Linked DNA regions of Homo sapiens: all the other regions are linked to region 1. The links are contacts of gene promoters, found by promoter capture Hi-C in blood cells and fetal thymus (Javierre and others, 2016). All regions are on one chromosome and are shown on one strand. Each heading gives the region's core, a stretch centred on a gene start or on the middle of the fragment in contact. The rest is flanking DNA. Distances are from core to core; before and after follow the strand shown.

Region 1 (2,685 bases), core at 85-2,584:
CCCAGCCTCAACAGGTGTTTTGAACGGCCAGAGTGGCCCTCAAGGAGGATACATGCCTCACTCCCACCGCAGCCACACGGCAAGCCTTCTTTCCCTGAGCCTCTGCCCTCTGCACCCCATCCCCCCATCTTCGCCTTACCACCTTTTATAATCCCTTTCGGTCTCAGTTTCCAAGGCAATTCCTCGAGGACCCTTTCACAATGCCAGCCTTTGCCAGGCTGTGGTGTGCTCACGCCATTCTTTTTCATCACTATTCCTAGCTTGAAATTATTGTGTAATTGCAATTTTTTTTTTTAAGACAGGGTCTCCCTCTGTTGCCCAGGCTGGAGTGCAGTGGCGTGATCATAGCTCAATGCTTCGTTGAACTCCTGGGCTCAAGCAATCCTCCTGCCTCAGCCTCCCAAATAGCTGGAACCATAGGCATGCGCCACAATGCCTGCCTAATTTTTATATTTCTTTGTAGAGATGAGGCCTCGCTATATTCCCCAGGCTGGTCTGGAACTCCTGGCTTCAAGTGATGCTCCAGCCTCAGCCTCCCAAAGCCGACTAGCCACCTTGCCAGCCTGTTTGTGATTATTTGATTGAAGTGTGTCACCCCTACTTCACCATGAGCTCAGGGCTCAAGGGGGACGGGGCTGGTGCCTGTTTTGTCCTGGACACCTGGGAACATCATAGGCACTTAGGAAATGTCTGTGGGATGATTGGTGCTGCTCCACAAGCTCGCCACCACCCATGAGGTGCAGGCATCGCAGAAAGGGCCTGGCAGGGGACAGACCATAGTGTCTTAAGCTCCCATAACCAGCCTAAGGAGGGAGGGAAGAAGGGAGGAGTGGCTGTGGCTCCAGATAATAAAAGCTGGGGCCAGGCCCTGGGGGGCATAACTGGCCTGAGATAACCTGAAAGACCTGAGGCGGAGGAGAGTCGTCACATTCCAGGGAGACTGCACACACACACAAACCACATGCACGTGCATGCACGCACACTCAGACACACACACTACACACACAGGGACACACACAGCCTACACATGTGCACATACAGCCTGTACATGCACACACACACACATACCACACCACATAAGAGGACACACACAGCCTACACAGGCATACACACACACCACATACACACTACACACCGGGACACACACACAAAAGGCCTATGCATGTGCACACACATACACACGGACACATACATGCACACACACGGGCCTGCAGCTCTGAAAGGACTCATGACTTTGGTGGCAAGAGGAGCTGGCGGAGCCCAGCCAGTGGGCGGGGCCAGGGGAGGGGCGGGCAGGTAGGTGCAGCCACTCCTGGGAGGACCCTGCGTGGCCAGACGGTGCTGGTGACTCGTCCACACTGCTCGCTTCGGATACTCCAGGCGTCTCCCGTTGCGGCCGCTCCCTGCCTTAGAGGCCAGCCTTGGACACTTGCTGCCCCTTTCCAGCCCGGATTCTGGGATCCTTCCCTCTGAGCCAACATCTGGGTCCTGCCTTCGACACCACCCCAAGGCTTCCTACCTTGCGTGCCTGGAGTCTGCCCCAGGGGCCCTTGTCCTGGGCCATGGCCCAGAAGGGGGTCCTGGGGCCTGGGCAGCTGGGGGCTGTGGCCATTCTGCTCTATCTTGGATTACTCCGGTCGGGGACAGGTAAGTGAGGACGTGGGGGCAGGGTGGGGACAATGCACTGGAGGGAGCCGGCGTGATCATTTTCTGGGGTGTGCCCTTGTCTGGGGCCCAAGAAAACCCCCGGCCTCCCTAGCTCTTGGCCTCTCTTTCCCACCTTGGCTCTGTCAGGGAAGGGGCCAGCCCTCTGGAGCAGTGGTGGGTACTAAGGGGTCAGGGAACCCGAGTCTTCCCTACTCACCCCTCCTCTTTCTCTTTCTTTCTAGGAGCGGAAGGGGCAGAAGGTGAGACTTTCCTCGGAGAGGGAGGAGGGGAGGGGGAGGTGACTTGGATCGGATTCCCCTGGGGTTTAACCAGTGCCTGGCCTTCAGCTGGGCTGCCTTCCAACTAGATTCTCTTAGGGCTCCCAGAGTGGGGGGTTTTAGCCCTCACCTTATGGGCAGAGAAGCAGGGACTTGCCCAGGGCACACTGCCAGTGAAGGTGCAGCTGGGATTCAGATCCACGTCTGACTCCCAAAGTGGGGCAATCGAGGTGGTTTTTTTGGTTTGGTTTTTGTCTTTTGAAACAGGGTCTGGGTCTGTCGTCACCCAGGCTGGAGTGCAGTGGCCCGATCGCAGCTCACTGCAGTCTCAGTGATCCAGCCTCCCGGGCTCACGTGATCCTCCCACCTCCCCACCTCAGCCTCCCTAGTGGCTGGGACTACAGGTGCATGCCATCACACCCAGCTAGTTGTGTTTTGTTTTTGTTTTTGTTTTTGTTTGGTAGAGATGTGGGTCTCACTATGTTGGCCGGGCAGGTCTTGAACTCCTGGGCTCAAGCGATCCTCCTGCCTTGGCCTCTCAAAGTGCTGGGATTACAGGTGTGAGCCACCGTTCCCATCCTGGAGGTGGTTTTGAGGGAACCAAACCAAGGGTCTCCTTTCTTGGAAGGCACCCAACCCAGCTCTGAGTCAGACCGGCTTTCAATCCTGGCTTCCCCATGCACTGGCTGTGTGTCATTGGCCAAGTCCCCCCACTTCTCTAAGCCTTAGACTCCTCACCTCTAAAATGAAGCTGGTCATG
Region 2 (2,685 bases), core at 79-2,578, 410 kb after region 1:
TTCTTTCTCAGAAGTTATGTTAAGTAACTTCTCTCCTAGAGAAAACTGATCTTTCCTTGTATGCTACCAAAGCAGAATGACTGAATATTCAAAATTAAGATCTACAATTCCAACAAGTTTATAGAATGGACGATTTGTGGGTATTTTCCTACGTAACACTCAACTCCAGGACTATAGCCTTCTTCAAATCACTGACCAGGATACAGAGGCGCCAATCAAATCCAGACCAGGTTTTTGCCAAGGGCCAGACTGGAATGGGGTGGAATGGGAACAGCTAACCGGACATCCGAGTCTCATCACTCTGAGACAGAAAATGGGCAACCCGGCAGTGAGGACACCTGGATGACTTTGACCCAATCCTTTCCCATCTTTGTGCTTCCAGTTTCACAGTCTGAAAAACTTCTTTGTATCACTTATTATGCTTGTAGTTACACATCTGTATGATTATTTAACTAATATCTATCCACTACACGGTAGGCCCCATACAACATGAACTGTGCCTTGCTCACTATAATCACTCAGTAACTAGCACAATTAAGCTCTCAATACATTTATCTGTTAACAAAATGAACAAATGAGGGAGACTAGACCCCAAGAGATAGTTGTGAAAAGAGGAGTGTTCCAAATCTCCTTCCTGACTGCTACCAAGTTTCACCTCTTGGCTTGAAGTGCTCTATGTGAGGGAAAAAAGGTGTCCTAGCAGACGGAAAAACCAATAAACTCAAAGAGCTAGTTCCTTTTGAGGCTAGCTCCCAATAGTAGCAAAAAGAGAAAATCTGGCCAGGAGCAGTGGCTCAAGCCTATAATCCCAGCACTTTGGGAGGCCTAGGTGGATGGTTTGAGCCTCCTATTCAAGACCAGTTTGGGCAACATGGCAAAACCGCATCTCTACAAAAAATACAAACAAGGGCCAGGCGCGGTGGCTCACACCTGTAATCCCAGCACTTTGGGAGGCCGAGGCGGGCAGATCATGAGCTCAAGATATCAAGACCATCCTGGCCAACATGATGAAACCCTATCTCTACTAAAATTACAAAAAAGTTAGCTGGGCGTGGTGGTGCAAGCCTGTAGTCCCAGCTACTTGGGAGGCTGAGCAGGAGAATCGCTTGAACCTGGGAGGCGGAGGTTGCAGTGAGCTGAGATCGCACCACTGCACTGCAGCCTGGTGACAGAGTGAGTCTCCATCTCAAAAAAAGAAACAAACAAGTAGCCTGGCATGGTGGCACAAGCCTACAGTCCCAGCTACTTGGAGGGCTGAGATGGGAGGTTCACTTAAGCCCAGGAGGCTGCAATGAGCGGAGACTGTGCCACTGCACTCTAGCCTGATTGACAAAGTGAGACACTGTCTCAAAAAAAAGACTATTTGTAAACCATACGTCTGAAAAAGGATCTGTAATCAGAATATATAAAGAACTCTTACAACTCAATAATAAAAAGACAACCCATTTTAAAAGGGCAGAGGATCTGAACAGATAGTTCTTCAAAGATACACAAATGGCCAGCATGGTATTTCAACCACATGAAATAAAGCTCAACATTAGCCAACAGGGAAATTCAAATCAAAATCACAATGAACTACTACTTCACACCCAGCAGGATGGCTATAATCAAAGTGATGATGTGCCAGGCATGGTGGCTCACACCTGTAATCCTAGCACTTTGGGAGGCTGAGGCGGGCAGATCACTTGAGGTGTGGAATTCGAAACCAGCGTGGCAAACATGGTAAACCCCATCTCTACTAAAAATACAAAAAAATCTGGCCAGGTGCAGTGGCTCATGTCTATAATCCCAGCACTTTGGGAGGCCAAGGCAGGCGGATCACCTGAGGTCAGGAGTTCGAGACCAGCCCGGCCAACATGGTGAAACCCCATCTCTACTAAAAATAAAAAAATTAGCCAGGCGTGGTGACGCCATGCCTGTAGTCCCAGCCACTCGGGAAGATGACACAGGAAAATCGTTTGAGCCTGGGAAGTGGAGGTTGCAGTGAGCCGGGATGGTGCCACTTTACTCCAGCCTGGGCAACAGAGCAAGATTCTGTCTCAAAAATAAAATAAAATAATAAGAATACAAAAAAATTAGGTAGGCATGGTGCCACATGCCTGTAATCCCAGCTACGAGGGAGGTTGAGGTGGGGTCACTTAAACCCAGGAGACAGAGGTTGCAGTGAGCCAAGACCGTGCCAAAGCACTCCAGCCTGGGTAACAGAGCAAGACTCCTTCTCAAAAAAAAAAAAAAAAGTATTGGCTCAAATGTGGAGAAACTGGAATCCTCACAGACTGCTGGTGGTAATGTCAAATGCTGCAGCCACTTTGGAAAAGTCTGGCAGTTCCTTAAACAGTTAAAACCTAGTTACAATATAACCCAGCAATTCTTCTCCTCAGTATGTATCTAACAGAAACTGAGAACACCTGTCCATACAAAAACTTGTACATGAAATGTTCACAGCAGCATTGTTCATAACAACCATAAAGCAGAAGTAACACACGTTTCCATCAACTCAAGGATAAAATGTGGTATTCATACATTATTATTCAACATAAAAACAAATGAAGTACTGATATACGCTATAACACAATAAAATTCAAAGAACATTAATCTAAGTAGAAGATGCCAGTCACAATGGACCACACATTATACATTATGACTCCATAGGCAAAACTAGAGAAATAAAAAAGTAGGATGGTA
Region 3 (2,685 bases), core at 49-2,548, 320 kb before region 1:
GAGCCACCTAACCTGGTCTTTTTATTTTTTTAAAGAGCCAACATTTAAATAAGGAGATTTCACATCACAGTCGATTTCTGGGGCTTGGTTTGTTGTTGTTTTTTTTGTTTTTTTTTTTTTTTAATTGAGACAGGATCTTGCCAGGTTGCAGACTGGTCTTGAACTCCTAGGCTCAAATGATCCCCTCCTGGCCGGGCACGGTGGCTCACGCCTGTAATCCCAGCACTTTGGGAGGCCTAGGTGGGCGGATCACGAGGTCAGGAGATCGAGACCTTCCTGGCTAACAAGGTGAAATCCTGTCTCTACTAAAAATACAAAAAATTAGCTGGAAATGGTGGCAGGCGCCTATAGTTCCAGCTACTCAAGAGGCTGAGGCAAGAGAATGGCATGAACCCAGGAGGCAGAGCTTGCAGTGGGCGGAGATCCTGTCACTGCAATCCAGCCTGGGTGACAGAGCAAGACTCCGTTTCAAAAAAAAAAAGAAAAGATCCCCTGCCCCGGCCCTTCCCTCCCCCACCCACCTCGGCTTCCGAAAGTGGTAGGATTACAGGCGTCAGTCACCACACCCGGCCTGCTTTATTATTTATATCAGAAGATGCTGCAACATTGGATTTTTATGGCAGCAGTTCGTTGAGTAGTGGCTGTCCTGGACATAGGAACAGGGACACTCCCTCTTGCATCCCTGACTCAGCACGTTTCATATGTGTTACTTGCCTGTCCCCTGCAGAAAAGTACTTGAGGTTACAGTCTCCATCCCACCCCACTGTGGGTGAGAAGGACCTTTCCATGCAGTGAAGGCACTTTTCCCCTTTCCTTCACCCCTTCCTGTTCCCTTCTCTGCCGTTTTCCTTCTTCTCCCCCAGAACTCCTCTGTGAAATACCTGGCCTCCTTCCCTGAGCCTCCCTGTCTCCCTGCCACCCCATCTCCACTCCGTGCTATGACATCACCCCGTAATTTGAAGCTCCTTTCCCTATCTGAAGGGAGGCAGAGACAGAGTGCACAGGCTCAACTAGGCAAGGCAGACCCTTGCATGCCTGGGTCAGAGGTCAGGGTCTCTGGCACACATTCCTCCCAGAGCAACTGTAGGAAGCAAGCCAGTACAGAGGTACTCTAAGCGCTAGACAGGACGGGGTGGGAGTCGGTAACATCGTCTCCTCTGGGCTGGCCCTGCTTCTGCTTAGCTCTGGGCATAAGACTGACTCCAGTACAGTCACAGTTATGTCTCTGAGCTCACCCAGTCCTGGGTTCCAGGTTCCCAGCTCTGAGCCTGGCGAGACACACACAGGCTGGTGCTGTGGGATGTCTTGGTACGGTGGCTCACGCCTGTATTCCCAGCGCTTTGGGAGGCCGAGGTGGGCAGATCACCTGAGGTCAGGAGTTCGAGACCAGGCTGCCCAACGTGGTGAAACCCTGTCTCTACCAAAAATATAAAAATTAGCCAGGCATGGTGGCACGTGCCTGTAATCCCAGCTACTTGGGAGGTTGAGGCAGGAAAATTGCTTGAACCCAGGAGGTGGAGGTTTCAGTGAGCCAAGATCGTGCCACTGCACCCCAGTTTGGATGAAAGAGTGAGACTCCGTTTCAAAAAAAAAACAAAAAAAACAAAACCAAAAAATAAAAAAACACATCAGCTTGACATTTTGGAGGCATTCCCAGACTCAGGGTTAGTCAGCAGATTAGCATTTAAAAGAAAGTCTTGTCCCTACAGATTCCCTGACCTCAGCTACCCATGAAGGGTGGGAAGAGGAGTCCTTAGCAAGAAGTCCAGGAAGTTGACAACCTCCTCAGACCTGATAGGACACTCCTCTCTCCACCCTGCCTCCTGACTGATTTAATCTCAGGGGTGTGAGGACCTCTGAGATAGGCCCCAGGAGTCTCACCCGCACCACTTATGTCTCAGGGCTAACCAGAGACTCCCTGAAACAGATCCTAGAGGATTCCCAAGTGATAGGATAAATAGAGAGGTACTGAGACTTCCTGGCGTGGGTGACCTCTCCCAGGCTGGCCAACCTCCCCCATTCAGAAATTTGCTGAGCACCAGGAGTGAATGAAGTAAAGGAAGCCCCTAGGAGTTCAAGAAGCAGAGATTTCCAGGTCCATGCACCAAAGCTCATGTGCTCAATTCTCAGGAAAGGCCTCACTCAGTTAAAAAATTTTGTATCATGAAAGGGTAAATGAATTAATTAGTGAATCTGGTTTCTAAGCCAATGGCTTACTAGAAATATTATAGTAAATCAGAAAAAAAAAAAAAGGCGGTGGCTCACACCTATAATCCCAGCACTTTGAGAGGCTGAGGTGAGAGGATGCTTTGAGCCCAGGAGTTCGAGACTAGCCTGGGCAACATAGCAAACCCCATCTCTAGAAAAAATTAAAAAACCAGCCAGGTGTGGTGATGTTCACTGTAGTCCCAGCTATTCAGGAGGCTGAGGCAGGAGGACCGCTTGAGCCCAGGAATTTGAGACTGCAGTGAGCTAGGATTGTGCCACTGCACCCCAGCCTGGGCAACAGAGTGAGACCCTGTCTCTAAAAAAATAATTTTTTTTAAAGATAATTCTTCAAAGGAGATCCGCTCTTCCTTTCCTACACCCATTCCCTTTCCTCCCTTTCCTGAACAATGCTGTCTTACAGCCTCTAGGGGCAGGCAGAGCCAAAGAGGCCTCTGCCGGGTGTGGGGAGTGAGACGC
Region 4 (2,685 bases), core at 86-2,585, 260 kb before region 1:
CAGGGTCAGGCCCAAGGACATGTTCACGGCCTCAGGGCGGACTGCAAGGGCAGACACGCGGGGTCTCACTCACAGCACACACTCATTTGCGGGGAAGGTCTGGACTGGAAGCTAAGCGGGGGCACAGTTGGGTCCAGGAGGGTTGAGGGGCCCAATTCCCAGGTGGTCACTCACTGTGCAGCGGGATGGGCTGGCACATGCCGGTGGCAGCTGCGCAGTCATACAGCCGTCCCGTCTGGTTGGCCGCCACCACCTCCAGGGGTGCTCCCACCACGAGTCTGGAGACACAACCATGGCCATGTCACTGCAGCCACAGGAGGGGTGGGAGCAGCGGGCACTTGGGGGTGAGGAAGTGTCCCTCCATGGGGAAGCGAGACTCTGTGGGGGAAATTCCTGGCATTTGCCACTTGGCAGAATATTCAGAAATCAGGGCCCAAGTGTAACTCACAGATGCCCAGGGGCCATGCTGGGGTTTATTTGGTTTTGAGTGTGCATAAGTACGTATGTGTGTATTTATGTTTAGAAATTTCTTTTTAACATTCACCAAAAAAAAAAAAAAAAAAAAAAAAAAAAACCTATTTAAAGACCAAAATGGCATTTCCCAATCATGGGTAAGCACATTGCGTTTCTGAGTTGCCATTATTTTGAACCACCCAAGAAATAAGATCATCTCAAGTTAATTGGAACAATTTCCTGAAGACATGTGCTTTCAAAACAAATAGTTGATTCTGTAATTCATTGGACCAATTTAAATATTGTATAAGCAATTTCAATTGGCCAATGTAAAGCAGTGTACTAGGATCCATAACTATATCTATAGTTATGTAGAGTCAAGGGTTTATTTGCAAAACTCCCTGAGTGGGAAAGTTTTTTAATTTTGGAAATGTTTTCTCACTACCCACAATCTCCTGTCTGTGAGAAAAGCAGACAGATACTGGTGTATTTTAATGCGCCAAGCAAGGCTTCATTAAATGGCCATGTGAGGGTTCCTTCTAGGTGCCGCTCCTTTACAGAAAGCTACAATCCCTGTGCATCATGATTCAGGGGATGCCTAAGGCTTTGTGAAGAAAATCTGAGCATTGGCTAGAGAGGTAGCAGTTTGGAACCTGCTGATACAAACGATGAGCAAAACTTTAGTGTAACCCATCAACCCATATGTTTTTTGAGACAGAGTTTCACTCTGTCACCCAGGTTGGAGTGCAATGGCGTGATCTCAGCTCACTGCAACCTCCACCTCCCAGGTTCAAGCAAATCTCCTATTTCAGTCACCCAGCTAGCTGGGATTACAGGCACCTGCCATCACGCCAGGCTAATTTTTGTATTTTTTAGTAGAGACAGGGTTTCACCATATTGGTCAGGCTGGTCTTGAACTCTTGACCTTAGGTGATCCACCCGCCTCAGCCTCCCAAAGTTCTAGGATTATAGGCATGAGCCACTGCACTCAGCCAATGTATTCTTTTTTTAAAATGTGGCCCAAAAAACTGATGGTGACAGAAGTCTGACCAGGGGTTCTCTGGGGATGTTGGGTGATGAGAAGGGGTCCACGGCAGCCCTGTGCCTGTGGGATTTGACACTGGAGCAGCTGACCTAGGTGGGGCTCACCCAGGCACGCACATGTGTATCCTTTATCAGATTGGGTCTTTCAGATTTGTGCACCTCAGTTGACCACATTTCCAAATAAAGAAAAACAAAAGCCTGGTGCCTGGTGCTTGCTTCCATCCCCCCAGACTGCCAGTCACATGAGGAAGGGAGAGGGGTGCGCGGTTGGAGCTCGGTGACCTCTTATAGCTCCTCGTGACCAACTGAGCCTTCCTGTCCACTGGGGCTCACTGCCAGCACCACTTCCTCCATGGAACCCTCCTGGGTCTGCTCTCTCCCTGCCTGCGCCCCCCAGACCTTGGTGACACCTGTGTCACATTGTGACTTGAACTCTCTGGGACAGGAGAATGTGAGCTCCTGGAAGTGGGGGCAGGTTCATAATTTGTGGGTCCCAATTTGAAATAAAACTGTGGGGTCTCTTGGGGTTGGGGGGCTCTTACCTTTCTTCTGCTCTCTTCCTCAACCTGTCCTGACGTTTTTTATTTGCTATGTAGTGTCCCACTCCCTCGGGGTACTCCCAGAGTGAGCGCCCCTAACTGACTTTACCCAGCTCATGCCAGGGGCGGAAGGTAGCAGCGGTCATTGCTCCCACATGGGTGGGGGAGCCAGCAGCTGATACCCCTTCACCACCCTTCAGGAGGCGGTGGGAGGTGGGGCTGCTGCTGAGCTAAGGCTCCAAACCCCCAGTGCATCTCCCTTCTCCCATGACTTTTTTTTTTTGACGGAGTCTCACTCTGTCACCTAGGCTGGAGTAAAGTGGCACGATCTCGGCTCACTGCAACCTCCACCTCCCAGGTTCAAGCGATTCTCCTGCCTCAGCCTCCCAAGTAGCTGGGATTACAGATGCCTGCCACCATGCCCGGCTAATTTTTTTTGCATTTTTAGTAGAGATGGGGTTTTGCTGTGTTGGCCAAACTGGTCTCAAACTCCTGGCCTCAGATGATCTGCCCGCCTCAGCCTCCCAAAGCGTTGGGATTATAGGCGTGAGCCATGGTGCCCAGCCCTGCCATCATTCTTTACTTGCAAAACACAAATGCACAGATAAAATTTTTAAGAATTGGCAAGACAGGGTGGCTCACACCTGTA
Region 5 (2,685 bases), core at 112-2,611, 260 kb after region 1:
TCCCCGCAATCCCTACCGCTCCCTGGTGTTCCACTCTCCTCCTTGCTGTTCACTTGCATGGCCTCCAGGCTAATGGCTGAGTTTTGCGGCCAGGCATTTCAGGCCTCCCAGCCTTGGCCTCTGCTCACCTTCTCCACCTCCTCACTCCCTGCTCTAGTCATCTTCATCTCATGTCCTGCCCTCCAGCCACATGGGCTTCTTGGTCCCTTCCACACCTGTTTTTGCCCATGGAGTTCTCCCACCAAGTTCCTTATGGTAGAAAAGCCCCTGCTGGATTTGGCCCCTGCCCACCTCTCCTGCCCCTTTCCCCAAGCTTTCTTCCAACTCATGCATAGAACTTCTACCACAAGGAAGCTGGCCAGGCTGTTAGCACTCCCGTTCCCTCTGTCTGTGAAGCCCTTTCCTTCCCTCCACCCTCCCCTTCTCTCTCTTATCTCAGGCTTTGGGTTTGATTTCACCTCCTCCAAGGTTCCCTGACCTTCAAACTAGGTCAGGTCCCTGGTTAGTCACTATACTTCCTCTTTCTCACCTCCTTCATCTCACTTCCCCTGCTAGAATAAGGCCACATCTGTCTCATAATCTCTGTCTTCCTAGGGCCTAGTGTGGTGCCTGGCATACAGTAGGTGCTCATTAATGATAAATGAATGAAAGCAAGCACATCTCCCTTTCTCTACTGGCAAAATCCTAATCCTTTTCTGGTTACATTTCTCCTGTAGCATCCAATTCTGTTCTCGAGACCCAAAAGATCCCTGAGGTCCTGTGATCAATGGAGTTTTAGCTCAGGTCCATTTCACAGTGGGCCCAGGGGATCCCCAGATTCATCCGTGGTTATTTCCCCAGGCACAGAGTGAGTGCACTGGTGGCACAGGCATACCCAGCAAGTGGCATAATCCCCCCCATTAGTTAACTGGGTGTCGCTGTGCATGGCTGTGAAGGCAGGGATGCACCTGGCTGGTGACCCCAGAACCCCTCCGGGTACGGCACAAGGGCAGAGCCCAAGAACTTACTTTCTGTCCTCTTGCATTTGCCTGTGGATTTGCAGTTGGTAATGGCGTTCTTGCCCGGCCCTCCTTTGTTCCTCCAGGCAGCCAGGCAGCTGTGGCGTAGTGAAAGGGCAGGATGCGGGATAGGAATGGAGTTATTCCTGATTCAGACTGATTTGCTCTAACTGTGATTTGGGGCAAGTCCCTTCCCCTGTCTAGACCTTAGCTGGCTGCCGCATCTAAAAAATGGAGCCAATAATCTTTTCCTCGTCTTTGGGGTCATCCATCTTTCAACCACATCAGGAGCAGCGGGAACCAAGTGCAGAGGATGGCCTTAAAAGCAGTATGGGAACCAAATTTTTGTAAAGTAAATATTTTCAACCTTTATATTTTGGAATCACCAGCGGTATTTATTACGTGCACTCTAGGAAATGGAGGCAATGCAATGCCAAAAACAGAAAGTAAAACTGCTGTCCTGTGCCGCGGCCCGGTGGAGGTTTTAATGTCTGTATCTTAAGATCTGGTGAGGGCACGGGTAGGTGCGGCTGGACTGAGTGAAACCAGCCCCGCTGGGCGCCTGGGCCCTTGTCTCAGGGCTGTGCTCGCAGTGGAGGCATCTGCAGCTCGGCACCCAGAGGCCCCGCGACCCTTCCAACCTTTGTGACGCTCCGCGGAGACAAAGGCCGGCGGCGCAGCCTTGGGAAGGGTTAAGGCCACAGACGCAGCCCTGCGCGTGCTAGAGCGGCCGGTGGCGGACTTCCGGTTGGGGCGCGGGCGCGCGCCGCGTGTTCCCGACCCGCCGAGGCTGAGACCTCGGGCAACCTCAGCAGTGCGCAGGGCTGCACTGTCTCCGTCTGCGGCCTGCAGTAAGCGGGTAGGGGATATGTCGCGTGGCCTCGCCTGGTCTGCGGCGGGAAACTCGCATCTAGGCCAGACCCTCCCGCAGGGTCCGCACTCGCGATCTGGGCTGTGGGCAGCATCGTGGCCCCTCGGGGCGTTATAGGGGCGTGAGGATCCCGGGCGAGCTGGGGGCGGGCGGCTTCTTCAGCTCCCTTGCGCCATGGAACCCACTGTATGCCCGTTATGCAGTCAGGAAAGATGAGGCCGGGAAGGAGGGCGTTACGCTGCAACCCCGGAGACCAGCTGTCCCTCGCGTTGCCGCAGTCGGCAGAGGCGTGGCCGGAGCCATTCCCGGTCTCCAGTGCGGCTGCAAGAGCGGGCGCCCGAGGGCGTTCTGCTCCGGGCCTCCACCCGCGAGCTGACCGTGTCAGGCGCGCCACACACGGCGCTTCTCATTCTCTCTCCACCTCGCGAGGCAGAAGCTGCCGTTCCCGTGTCACAGACAGAAAAACAGTCTGGGGTGATTTATCCGGAGTCAAGACTCAGGTCTGTGGCTCAGTCGGGAAGGATAGAAACCCAAGCTTCCTCCGAATGGTTCAGAGACCCGACCAAGTTAAATAATAATGGCCCTGGCTCAGGGGTCTTTAAGTCTTCCCCCCGCCCTCCCCTTTTGTTTTTGTTTTGTTTTGAGACCGCCTCACTGTCCCCCAGGCTGGAGTGCAGCGGTGCGATCTCCGCTCACTGCAGCTTCGACCTCCCGAGGGCTCAGGTGATCCTCCCACCTCAACCTCAGGAGTGTCTGGGACTACAAACACGCGCCACCACGCCCGGCTAATTTTTCTGTTTTTTGTAGAGTCAGGAT

Evidence for each region. The method cuts DNA at HindIII sites, captures the fragments that hold promoters and counts their contacts. A CHiCAGO score of 5 or more calls a contact.
Region 2: a contact is called between a fragment that was not itself captured here and the fragment with the promoter of PRSS8 in region 1, in 1 of 17 cell types (monocytes). The highest score is 5.0, in monocytes.
Region 3: a contact is called between a fragment that was not itself captured here and the fragment with the promoter of PRSS8 in region 1, in 14 of 17 cell types (M0 macrophages, total CD8 T cells, naive CD8 T cells and 11 more). The highest score is 11.1, in M0 macrophages.
Region 4: a fragment that was not itself captured here is called in contact with the fragment with the promoter of PRSS8 in region 1 in 5 of 17 cell types (monocytes, neutrophils, M0 macrophages and 2 more); the score reaches 8.3 in monocytes.
Region 5: a contact is called between a fragment that was not itself captured here and the fragment with the promoter of PRSS8 in region 1, in 1 of 17 cell types (monocytes). The highest score is 5.1, in monocytes.

The regions. Positions count from the first base shown.
Region 1 is chr16:31,134,376-31,137,060 of GRCh38, reverse strand. PRSS8 (serine protease 8) reads left to right here and starts at 1,334. Exons shown (of 6, transcript NM_002773.5): 1 at 1,334-1,647; 2 at 1,890-1,907. The coding sequence starts at 1,563. RefSeq lists an enhancer at 2,273-2,685. The HindIII fragment of the contact is 17,481 bases long and covers 1-2,685 here.
Region 2 is chr16:30,726,075-30,728,759 of GRCh38, reverse strand. The region is part of intron 25 of SRCAP (Snf2 related CREBBP activator protein); the gene reads right to left. Among named protein-coding and RNA genes, the nearest start is that of TMEM265, 13 kb to the left of the region's middle. The HindIII fragment of the contact is 4,495 bases long and covers 1-2,685 here.
Region 3 is chr16:31,451,912-31,454,596 of GRCh38, reverse strand. No RefSeq gene overlaps it. Among named protein-coding and RNA genes, the nearest start is that of ARMC5, 6.2 kb to the left of the region's middle. RefSeq lists enhancers at 370-1,141, 1,142-1,914, 2,495-2,685. The HindIII fragment of the contact is 3,667 bases long and covers 1-2,685 here.
Region 4 is chr16:31,394,952-31,397,636 of GRCh38, reverse strand. ITGAD (integrin subunit alpha D) reads right to left here. Exons shown (of 30, transcript NM_005353.3): 3 at 175-278; 4 at 1-41. Among named protein-coding and RNA genes, the nearest start is that of ITGAD, 3.0 kb to the right of the region's middle. The HindIII fragment of the contact is 5,767 bases long and covers 1-2,685 here.
Region 5 is chr16:30,874,441-30,877,125 of GRCh38, reverse strand. It overlaps MIR4519 (microRNA 4519), which reads left to right and starts at 1,803; the gene lies at 1,803-1,860. It overlaps MIR762HG (MIR762 host gene), which reads right to left and starts at 1,666. Exons shown (of 3, transcript NR_110942.1): 1 at 1,640-1,666; 2 at 1,008-1,096. It also overlaps a transcript of BCL7C not described here. RefSeq lists a silencer at 894-953 and enhancers at 1,274-1,323, 1,354-1,563, 873-1,627, 1,834-2,093, 1,628-2,382 and 1 more. The HindIII fragment of the contact is 2,091 bases long and covers 316-2,406 here.